Linked DNA regions of Homo sapiens: regions 1 and 3 are each linked to region 2. Evidence: promoter capture Hi-C in 16 types of primary human blood cells and fetal thymus (Javierre and others, 2016). All regions are on one chromosome and are shown on one strand. The core of a region is centred on a gene start or on the middle of the fragment in contact, and the rest is flanking DNA. Distances in the headings are between cores, read along the strand shown. Region 1 overlaps LOC105375336 (a long non-coding RNA gene). Region 2 holds the start of RABGEF1 (RAB guanine nucleotide exchange factor 1). Region 3 has its middle 11 kb from the start of ASL.

What was found. Contacts are between HindIII fragments. The CHiCAGO score rates a contact against its expected background, and 5 or more counts as called.
Region 1: a contact is called between a fragment that was not itself captured here and the fragment with the promoter of RABGEF1 in region 2, in 1 of 17 cell types (M0 macrophages). The highest score is 5.5, in M0 macrophages.
Region 3: a contact is called between a fragment that was not itself captured here and the fragment with the promoter of RABGEF1 in region 2, in 1 of 17 cell types (neutrophils). The highest score is 5.7, in neutrophils.

What each region holds. Positions count from the first base shown.
Region 1 is chr7:66,026,374-66,030,220 of GRCh38, reverse strand. The region is part of intron 3 of LOC105375336 (a long non-coding RNA gene); the gene reads left to right. It also overlaps the pseudogene LOC100419772. Among named protein-coding and RNA genes, the nearest start is that of GUSB, 46 kb to the right of the region's middle. The HindIII fragment of the contact is 4,637 bases long and covers 1-3,829 here.
Region 2 is chr7:66,739,078-66,742,977 of GRCh38, reverse strand. RABGEF1 (RAB guanine nucleotide exchange factor 1) reads right to left here and starts at 2,245. Exons shown (of 9, transcript NM_014504.3): 1 at 2,186-2,245. RefSeq lists silencers at 2,022-2,161, 2,182-2,451 and enhancers at 1,902-2,568, 2,582-2,631. The HindIII fragment of the contact is 9,271 bases long and covers 1-3,900 here.
Region 3 is chr7:66,062,938-66,066,933 of GRCh38, reverse strand. No RefSeq gene overlaps it. Among named protein-coding and RNA genes, the nearest start is that of ASL, 11 kb to the left of the region's middle. The HindIII fragment of the contact is 7,771 bases long and covers 1-3,996 here.

The sequences.
Region 1 (3,847 bases), core at 262-2,761, 710 kb after region 2:
GCCTTTGGGACCCTGTCCCCTAAAAAAAGCTCCCAGAGTGGAAGACAGCAAAAAGAAAGAAACCGCCTCCCTTCCACATCCCCCCAAAAGAAAAGAAGGTAGTAGAATAAACAGAGTTGGCCATATTCTTTCCTCTCTAAAGGCTCAGTCTCAAGTGGTTGCAGCTTAGAACAGGAAGGAAATGGTTGAATGGTTTTTGGCCAAGCCTTTGGCTTTTAGGAGCCTCCTTGTCCAGTTTGGACTTTGCTAGGCGTTTGGGTGTTTTATCCATTGGGGAAACATTGCATTCATTGATCTCATGCCACTATTTCTGAAAGGAACAGCAGATGAGAGGGGTCGCATTGTATTTAGTGATGGTGTGTGAGCCTGCATTTTCTTCACTTCTGTGGTAGAATCTCTAAAACAGGAATGAGACTGAGATTCCCCCCTGCCTCCAGCACTCTAATGCATGCATGTTTTATCCTTGTGGGGAAAGTTTGCTTCTAAAAATCCATAGCATTTTTTCCTCCCCTTTTTTTGGTAAACTCTGTCTTATCACTTGCTTCAAAATTTTTCTTTTCCAGAAAGAAATTATTATGTTAGATTTTTTTTTTTTTTTTTTTTTTGAGATTGAGTCTCACTCTGTCGCCCAGGCTGGAGTGCAGTGGCATGATCTCGCCTCACTGCAAGCTCCACCTCCCGGGCTCATGCCATTCTTCTGCCTCAGCCTCCCGGGTAGCTGGGACTACAGGCGCCCGCCACCACGCCCGGCTAATTTTTTTTGTATTTTTAGTAGAGATGGGGTTTCACCGTGTTAGCCAGGATGGTGTCGATCTCCTGACCTCGTGATCCGCCTGCCTTGGCCTCCCAAAGTGCTGGGATTAAAGGTGTGCACCACTGCACCTGGCCTATGTTAGATTTTTATACTAGAGAAGCAGAATTCTTTTTTAACAAAATATTTGTTTTAAGAAAATTTGCTTTCAAATAGTATATTTTTGAGATCAGAGGAGATTAGTGATGTGTATATTCATAGGAAATGTTTGAAATTGTTTTTTTTTTTTTGAGATGGAGTCTTGCTCTGTTGCCCAGGCTGGAGTGCAGTGGCGTGATCTCAGCAACCTGCAACCTCTGCCTCCCAGGTTCACGCCATTCTCTTGCCTCAGCCTCAAGAGTAGCTGGGACTACAGGTGCCTGCCACCACGCCTGGCTAATTTTTTGTATTTTTAGTAGAGATGAGGTTTCACCATTTTAGCCAGGATGGTCTTGATCTCCTGACCTCATGATCCGCCCGCCTCAGCCTCCCAAAGTGCTGGGATTACAGGCATGAGGCACCGCACCTGGCCATATTTGAAATATTTTAGGTAAATTAATGAATTTGGATTATTTGGCTTATATAAAAGAGCATTTTTTTAATGTCATATGCCTCTGGGACTCATATTTGCTCAAATCCAAGAATTGGAAGCTGCGTAATGGGCGGGTGAAAGGAAGTACTACAGTTTCCTGTTTATCCTTCAAAACCACTGACCTTAGATAGATATATTTCTCAAATTTATTCATAAACTTCTTTTGTGTATCTTCTCCTGGGTGTTTCATTTACTAACTGATCTGAAAGAGCAGCGTAAAGAAAGTGGAAAGAATAAACACAGCTCTGGGCAACAGAACTTGAACACTATCACCTATGAAGTAAGGCTGGGCTTCTGCCAGGCCTACCTAAAGTACCATTGAGGGAGGGGGGTTTATTCTCCCAACGACTGGCTGCTGAAATCAAGATCGCCTTTTATCTGATTTGAATACTTTTACTGTAACCTGATTTTTATTCTGTTTATAAAAGTGGGAGGAGTTTGGTCAAGTGTAGTGTTTAGCCAGCTACAAAGTTAGAAGGAATAGTCTAAAAGATTGCTCTCACTTCTCCTTGAAAGGGAATCACTGCTCACTGCAGCCTCAACCTCCCAGGCTCAAGTGGTGCTCCGAGCTCAGCTTCCCAAGTAGCTGGGAATATGGGTATGCACTGCCATGCCTGGCTAATTTTTTTGTTGTTGTCCAGGGTGGTCTTGAATCCCTGGGCTCAAGGGATCTTCTCACCGCATCTTTCCAAAGTGCTGGGGACTTAGACACTTAAGGCTATTGTTTATTTTTCAAGTTTCAGATTCTTCCCAAAATATGTAATTATAATTCCTCTCAAATTATATCTGTATTCTTCTTCAAAAGCCACAAATTCTGTGTAATCATGAGAAAATATCAGACCATTGCAAATCAATTTTAAAAAAACACCTTTTATTTTGAAATCATTTTTCTTTTTTTTTTTTGGAGATGGAGTCTCCCTCTTGTTGCCCAGGCTGGAGTGCAATAGCACGATCTTGGCTCACCACAACCTCCGCCTACCAGGTTTAAGTGATTGTCCCGCCTCAGACTCCTGAGTAGCTGGGATTACAGGCATGCGCCACCTCGCCTGACTAATTTTGTATTTTTAGTAGAGATGGGGTTTCTCCATGTTAGTCAGGCTGGTATCGAACTCCCAACCTCAGGTGATCCGCCGATCTTGGGCTCCCAAAGTGCTCGAATTATAGGTGTGAGCCACTGCGCCCAGCCATTTTTCTCTTACATAAAAGTTGTAGAGACAGGTGCTGGGAGTTCTTGTGTACCCTTCCCATAGTTTTCTCCGATGTTAACATCTTACATAACCATGGTCTATACCATGAAAAACCAAGAAATTAACATTGGTACATACTATTAAACTAAGCTAAAATTTTATTTGAATACCTTGTTTTCCCACTGCTGTTTTCTGAGTTCCAGGATTCAGTTCAGGATACCATTTTTTTTTTTTTTTTTTTTTTTTTTTTTTTGAGAGGGAGTCTCTCTCGCTCTGTCGCCCAGGCTGGAGTGCAGTGTCATGATCTCGGCTCACTGCAAGCTCCGCCTCCCAGGTTCACGCCATTCTCCTGCCTCAGCCTCCCGATAGTAGCTGGGACTACAGGCGCCCGCCACCACACCTGGCTAATTTTTTGTATTTTTAGTAGAGACGGGGTTTCACCGTGTTAGCCAGGATGGCCTCAATCTCCTGACCTTGTGATCCACCTGCCTCGGCCTCCCAAAGTGCTGGGATTACAGGTGTGAGCCACCGCACCTGGCTCAGGATACCATTTTATATTTAGTTAACATGTTCCCATAATGTCATTTGTTCTGTGTCCTTACTCTTCCTTTGTCTTCCTTGACACTTGTGAAGGGCTGGTCAAGTATTTTGTAGAACGTCCCTTGATTTGTGATTGTCTGACGTTTTCTTATGATTACACAGAACCTGTGGCTTTTGAGGAAGAGTACCACAGAGGTGATCTCCCCTTCTCGTGTCCTGATATCTCAGGGTACATGATATCGATGTTTCTTTCTTTTTTTTTTTTTTTTTTGAGATGGAGTCTCTCTCTGTTTCCCAGGCTGGAGTGCAGTGGCACAGTTTTGGCTCACTGCAACCTTCACCTCCTGGATTCATTCCATTCTCCTGCCTCAGCCTCCCGAGTGGCTGGGACTACAGGTGCCGGCCACCATGCCCGGCTAATTTTTTGTATTTTTTTAGTAGAGACGGGGTTTCACCGTGTTAGCCAGGATGGTCTCAATCTCCTGACCTCGTGATCCGCCCGCCTCGGCATCCCAAAGTGGTGGGATTACAGGTGTGAGCCACCGTGCCCGGCCAATGTCGGTGTTTCTTATGGCTACTATTGTTAACTTTGGTCATTTGGTTAAGATAGTATCTGCCTGGATTGTCCACTGTAAAGCTACTGTTTCTTCATTTCCATATTATGTTAGAAAGGATTCACCAAGTTCAGCCCATATTCAAGGGGAAGAGGGAGATTAAGCTTCACCTCTTGAAGGGAGG
Region 2 (3,900 bases), core at 996-3,495:
GTTCTGTCACCATCAGAGGAAGCCTGAGCTCCTACATCTCTGTCCTGCACTTTTTCACTTTAGTAACGACCCTCCAGGCTCGGTAGCTGATGCCTGTAATTTCAGCACTTGGGACGCTTGAGGCAGGAAGATTGCTTGAGTGCAGGAGTTTGAGATCAGCCAGGGCAACACAGCAAGACAACATCTTTACAAAATATTTAAAAATCAGCTGGGTGTGGTGGCACGCATCTGCAGTCTTAGCTACTCGGGAGGCTGAGGTGGGAGGATCACTTCAGCACAGGCAGTTGAGACTTCAGTGACTCGTGATCGTGTCACTGTACTCCAGCCTGGGTGACAAAGTGAGACCCTCTCTCTCAATAAATAAATTAATAGGCACCTCCTTGTAGTTACTGGCCTCCTCTCCTTTGATTCCCCCCTCTCCCTCACTCCACCCTGTTAGTCTGAATGTTAGTCATTCTTCAAGACACATGCAGAAAGTATTCCCTGATCCCTTCCAGGCTCCACACCCAACAGCATGGCCTAAATGCCCGGCTCCTTCCTCGGTGCTCCATCTTAGCTCACATTCCTTACCACACTGTTTTGAAAGTATCTTGACTGTCCCTTCTCCTCAACTGGCTAACTTCTAGAGAGCAGAAACATGACTGCTTGGAAGGTCATTAAAAATTCAAATCCTGAACATTTCTTAATCCTGCGGATATGAATCAGTGACTCTTAAAAGCAAAATGTTATTTATCATTAAATATTAACAATATAATCACATTTTCTTGCATCTCTGGCAAGTTTCTTGGTACAACAATTTTAAGGAACAGACTCTTAGTTTTTTTTTTGAGATAGAGTCTAGCTCTGTCGCCCAGGCTGGAGTGCAGTGGCACGATTTCGGCTCACTGCAACCTCCGCCTCCCGGGTTCATGCCATTCTCCTGCCTCAGCCTCCAGAGTAGCTGGGACTACAGGTGCCCGCCACGATGCCCGGCAAATTTTCTTTTTCTTTTTTTTTTTTATTTGTAGTAGAGACGGGGTTTCACCGTGTTAGGGAGGATGGTCTCAAGCTCCTGACGTCATGATCCGCCTGCCTTGGCCTTCCAAATGCTGGGATTACAGACGTGAGCCACCGCACCCGGCCGGAACACACTCTTTAACAGCAGTTAAAGCCGCGCAATGGCTCACGCCTATAATCCCAACACTCTGGGAGGCCGAGGCGGGAGGATCACTTAAGGCCAGGAGTTTCACACCTGCCTGGGCAACACTGTGAGATCCCATGTCGAAAAAAATAATAAATAAAAACAAAGCAGTTCTAGGTTTAGAGGGGGGAAAGCAGCTCTCCAGGCCAAAAACCAACTCCCAAGGTGCTCCGGTAAACTCGTCCTGGGAAAATTTCCTACCTAATCTCAAAGGCAAAACGAGCCCACGGGCGCCCACGACACATTTCCCAACCGCAAGGATTGGTCACCCGCGCTGAGACACCGCCAGCTGCCTATGACCTAGCCTCCAAAGCGGCAGAGTCCCTCCCTCTCTCTCCCTAAACTGCCGTGATGGGCATCCCTCGGCTCTCCTCCCAGACGGTTCGGAAGCAGGGACTTCTGCTCCTAACCCCGGCCCCGCAGCCTCGCCCTCAGCCACGGGGTGGAAGTCAGGACCACAGGCTTCAAATCCCCTCCCAACTCCGGGACACTTCTGCCCCCTAGGGTGACGTGGGATCAAGTCCCCGCGCCCCTGCCGCGGCCGGGGGCTGTGGTCTGGGTCCGAGCGTCCCATACCAGCGCTTTCCGGGGAGGTTGTGGGAGGGGCCCCGTGCGACCACAGACGCTGCTTCGGAGCCAGCGGCCTGGACGGAAGGTGGGAGCCGGGGCGAGGGGAGCCGCCGGAGAGGGAGGCGGCCAGGAAATGCTCCGCGTCAGGCCGTCGGGGCTCGGCTGGCGCTGGAGATCCCGGCAACTAGCGTCTGGGACGGAGAGGCCGCACTCTGAGGATTAAGGGAGCCGAGGGCGGCCTGGAACGGGGAAGGCGGCGCTGACGGAGACGGAATGTGGGACGAAGGACAGCGGGAGGCACCGACGCGCAACTGCCCCAGCCGCGCGGATGGCACGGACCGACCGCCCTGCCACCCCCAGCCCGAGACGCCCCGCCGCCCCGCTCCTGTAGCTGAGAGCCGAGCAGCTCTCAGCCCCAGTCCGTCCGCTCCGTACCTCGCCCGCGTCTCCGCCGGCGTCCAAACCACCGCTCGCCCGCTTCGCCCGGGTAGGTCTGGGCTCCGCGGCCAGCTCCCGCCTCACACCCACCCTCCTGCTCGCCCCGCCCCCGGCACCGCCAGCGAACGCACGTTACGCGCGGCGCGTAAACGTCACTTCCGGGGCCTTTGACTCTGGACGGGAGGAAGTGCGAGTGGATCCAAAGGGTCGAGCGGAGTGGGGTACCGCCCTGACGCCCAAGAGCAAATGGAAGAGGGCGGCCTCCGGGGTAAAGGTGGGGCGCTGGGGAGCCCCGGAGAAACCGGCGTTTCCTAGTCTGTCGCTCAGTCCCTGCTTCCGGCTTCCGACGCGCAACAGCTGGAGGGCGACGCTGGCTCCGCGGCGACTCCTGGGGCTGCGGCCGCGGTGGTAGCGCGAATGGGAGGTGGAGCGGAGCTACTGCGCCGAGGGACGCTTCAGAAACTCTGTTTCAGTCCTTCGCGGATCCTAGGATGTGACAGGTGTTCGAGTTAAAAGGTCTTAAGGCGATCGGTTGATCCAAAAGCAGCTGAATCTTTAGGAGGCCCAGGCAGGAGGATCGCTTGAGTCCAGGAGTTCGAGACCAGCCTGGGCCACAGAGCAAGGTCACCATCTCTACAAAAGAAATTTTACAAATCAGCCGGACATGATGGCGGGCACCTGTGGTCCCAACTACCAGGGAGGCTGAGGTGGGAGGATCGCTTGATAGCCCAGGAAGTTGACGGTGCAGAGATCCCTCCACTGAACTCCAGGCCGGGTGACAGCAGAGCGAGATCCTGTCTCAAAAAAAACATAACCGACATCCAGAAGTGAAATAAATTAGCCAGTGTCACAAAGTATTAATGGTTGAGTCACAAATTGAATCCTGTTTACCTGATTCTTTACGTGATTCCCATGTAAGGAATGTTAAAAACAGTAAATACTAATTCCTCTGCGTCCTGAATGCCATGTATGGCGTAACGTGCAGTCACAGCAAGAAAAAAAAGAAAATACTATGCTGTGGCTGTGAGATAGACCTGGGTTAAAATCCCAGCTTTGCTAATTGTCGCTGTAGTGTTCTTGGACAGGTTGCGTAATTTTTCAGTCTATTTTTTTTTTTTTTTTTTTTTTTTTTGAGACTCTCACTCTGTCGCCCACACTGGAGTTCAGTCGTGCGATCTCGGCTTACTGCAACCTCCGCCTCCTAGGTTCAAGCGATTCTCCCACCTCAGCCACCCAAGTAGCTGGAATTACAGGCACCCGCCACCACGCCCAGCTCATATTTTTTTTTTTGTATTTTTAGTCGAGACAGGGTTTCACCATGTTGGCCAGGCTGGTTTTGAATCCTGACCTCAAGTGATCCGCCCACCTTGGCTTCCCAAAGTGCTAGGATTATAGGTGTGAGCTACTGCGCCCGGCCCGAGTTTCTCAGTCTTTATTCATTATTGGTAAAGTAGGGATTAACTGATTCGTTTCTCAGATTCTTCCTAAGTGCCTAATGTGTGCTACGCTGAGGGTACAACAGAGTATAAAACAAAAGTAAGGCCAGGCGCAGTGGCTCACGCCTGTAATCCTAGCACTTTGGGAAGCCGAGGCGGGCAGATCACCTGAGGTCGGGAGTTCAAGACCAGCCTGACCAACATGGAGAAACCCTGTCTCTACTAAAAATACAAAATTAGCCAGGCATGGTGGCACATGCCTGCAATCCCAGCAAC
Region 3 (3,996 bases), core at 950-3,449, 680 kb after region 2:
ATACATGGGTAATTATAAAATCTAGTATTATTGTAACAACAGTCTGTATCTCCACTTTTTGTTTTTTGTTTGTTTGTTCGTTTGTTTTTGAGACAGATTTTCCCTCTGTCACCCAGGCTGGAGTGCAATGGTGCAATCTTGGCTCACTGCAACATCCACCTCCCTGGTTCAAGCAATTATCCTGCCTCAGCCTCCCGAGTAGCTGGGATTACAGGTGCTGGTGACCATGCCCGGCTAATTTTTGTATTTTTAGTAGAGATGGGGTTTCACCATGTTGTCCAGGCTGGTCTTGAACTCCTAACGTCAGGTGATCTGCCTGCCTCGGCCTCCCAAAGTGCTGGGATTACTGGCGTGAACCACTGCACCTGGCGTCCACGTTTTGTTTTCTAAACGATTTAAAGAAAGAATATATTTTCAAAAATAGTAGTCTAAAAGCTAGTGTTATTGTAACTTTAGTTTGTAACTCTACATCTTGTTTTCCACATAATTTAAGGGACAAATGTATTTAAAAGAATTATTAGGCCAGGTGTGGTGGCTCATGCCTATAATCTCAGCACTTTGGGAGGCTGAGGCGGGTGGATCATGAGGTCAAGAGTTTGAGATCAGCCTGACCAACATGGTGAAACCCTGTCTCTACTAAAAACACAAAAATTAGCTGGGCGTGGTGGCATGTGCCTGTAATCCCAGCTACTCAGGAGGCTGAGGCAGGTGAATCGCTTGAACCAGGGAGGCGGAGGTTGCAGTGAGCCGAGATCGCATCACTGCACTCCAGCCTGGGTGACAGAGCAAGACTTTGTCTCAAAAAAAAAAAAAAAAAAAAAAAGAATTATTAGTTTTGTTTGGGGACATGCAATGTATAAAGATATAATTTTGTACATCAGCGGACCGGGCGCGGTGGCTCACGCCTGTAATCCCAGCACTTTGGGAGGCCGAGGCAGCGGATCACGAGGTCAGGAGATAAAGACCATCCTGGCTAACATGGTGAAACCCCGTCTCTACTAAAAATACAAAAAATTAGCCGGACATGGTTACAGGCGCCTGTAGTCCCAGCTATTCGGGAGGCTGAGGCAGGAGAATGGCCTGAACCTGGGAGGCGGAGCTTGCAGTGAGCAGAGATCACACCACTGCACTCCAGCCTGGGTGACAGAGCGAGACTCCATCTCAAAAAAAAAAAAAAAAAAAAAAATTTGTACATCAGCAACTGAAAGCGTTGAAGACAAAGCTGGAAATAAAGAGTTTCTATATGTTCTTGAAATTTTGCATGTTATTAAAGTATATATCTCTTTTACTTAGGTCTTCTTTAACTTCTCTGAGCAACATTTTATAGTTTAAAGCGTACACACGTTCACATTTGTCTTAGCTTCCTAGGGCTGCTATAACAAATTACTATGAACAAAAATTTCTGTTGATCTGGCTTAAAACAACAAATTTATTTTCTCTTAGTTCTAGAGACTAGAAATCTGAAATAAAGGTGTCAGCAGAGCCATCCTCTTTCAAAGGCTGTAGAGGGGAACGTGTTCCAGAATCTGTTTCTTTCTCTTCGCTTCTGGTGTCACCGTTAATGTTTGGCATTACTTGATTTGCAGCTGCATAACTTCAATTTCTACCTCCATCATCACATGGCATTTTCCCCCTGTGTCTTCACATTGTTTTCTTATAAGGACACCAGTCATATTGTATTGAGAGCCCACCTACTCCAGTATAACCTCCTTTTAACTAATTCCATCTGAAATGACCCTGTCTCCAAATAAGGTTATAACCTGAGGTAGCAGAGGTTAAGACTTCAACCTATATATCTGGAGAACACAATTCAACTCATAACAACATCTGTTATCAGATTTAGCCATAAGTATTTCACATTTTTGATGCCATTATAAATTGTATTATTAACTTACTTTTAATTTCTGATTCGTTGTTGCTAGCATATGGAAATACACTTAATTTTTGTGTTGATCTTATATCCTACTTTTTAAAAATAGATTTTATTAAATTTTCTACATAGATAGTCATCTGGGAATAAGTAGAATTTACTTCTTCCTTTCTAAATTGAATGTCTTTTTTAAAAAACCTCATTGAGGCTGGATGCAGTGGCTCATGCCTGTAATCCCAGCACTTTGAAAGGCCGAGGCAGGCGGGTCACCTGAGGTCAGGAGTTCGAGACCAGCCTGACGGGATAAAACTCTGTCTCTACTAAAAATACAAAAATTAGCCAGGCACAGTGGTGCGTACCTGAAGTCCCAGCTACTCGGGAGGCTGAGGCAGGAGAATCTCTTGAACCCGGGAGGTGGAGGCTGCAGTGGGCCAAGATTGCACCACTGCACTCCAGCCTGGGTGACAGACCAAGATTCTGTCTCAAAAAAAATAAAAAATAAAAAATAAAAACCTCATTGCAGTGGCTAGATTATTTTGTACAAAAAAAAGAGAGAATATTTTGTACAGTGCTGAATAGAAGTGAGGGGAGTGGACATTCCTGTCTTGACCTGATCTTTATGGGAAAGCATTTAGTCTTTCACCATCAAGCATGCTGTTATTTGTAGGTTGTTTGATGGTGCCCTTTATCAGTTTGAGGAAGTTCTCTTCTATTTCTAATTTGCTGAATTGATCCTGTCAAACACTTTTCTGAATCTATTGAAAGATATTAATGGTTTTCTTTTTTAGTTTAATAAAGGAGTTACATTGATTGTTTAAAAATAGACTTACTGAGATATAATTCATATAGCATAAAATTCACACATTTACAATGCACGATTCAGTGATTATTATACTCAAAAGTTATGCAACCATTGCCACAGCTTAATTTAAAAACATTTTCATTGGCTGGGCATGATGGCTCACGCCTGCAATCCCAACACTTTGGGAGGCCAAGGTGGGCAGATCACAAGGTCAGGAGTTTGAAACCAGCCTGGCCAACATGGTGAAACTTGTCTCTACTAAAGATACAAAAAATTAGCTGGGCGTGGTGGCACGTGCCTATAATCCCAGCTACTTGGGAGACTGACGCCAGAGAATTGCTTGAACCTGGGATGCAGAGGTTGCAGTAAGCCGAGATCACGCCACTGCACTCCAGGCTGGGTGACAGGGTGAGACTCCATCTCAAAAGAAAAAAAAAAAAAAGAAAGCAAAAAAATTTTTCATAAAAGAACTCCACAGCTATTAGCAGTCTAAAAATATTTTCTTCCATGCTGTGGATTGTCTTTTCACTTTCTTGGTTGCATCATTTGCAACAAAAATGTTTTTAATTTTGATGAAGTCCAGCATATTTCTTTTTTCTTTTTCTTTTTGTACTTTTGGTGTCATATCTAAGAAAACTTTACCTAGCCCAAGGTCATAAAGATTTACTCTTGTTTTCTTCTAAGAGTTTTATAGTTTTAGCTCTTAAATTTAAGTCTATGCTCCAGTTTGAGTTAATTTTTCTATATAGTGTGAGGTAGGGGTGCAAGTGATTCTTTTGCATATGGATATGTAGTTACCTTTGCAGTAGTTGTTGCAAAGACAAATTATGGCCTAGTAGTATCTCATCATGGATTTAATTTGCATCTCTTTCGTGAATAATGTTGAGCATCTCTTCATATGTCTATTGGCTATTCGTGTATCTTCTTTGGAGAAATATCTATTCAAATCATTTTCTCATTTTTATATTAGGTTGTCTTTTCAAATATCCCCATTAAAATGTCTTGACATTCTTGTAAAAAATCAGTTGGCCTAAATGTAAGGTTTTCTTTCTTTCTTTATTTCTTTTTTCTTTTTTTTTTTTTTTTTGGAGACAGAGTTTTACTCTTGTTTCCCAGGCTGGAGTGCAATGGCATTATCTCGGCTCACCGAAAACTCTGCCTCCCAGGTTCAAGCGATTCTCCTGCCTCAGCCTTCCCAAGTAGCAGGGATTACAGGCATGAACTACCACACCTGGCTAATTTTGTATTTTTAGTAGAGATGGGGTTTCTCTATGTTGGTCAGGCTGGTCTCAAACTCCTGACCTCAAGTGATCCACCCCCCTCG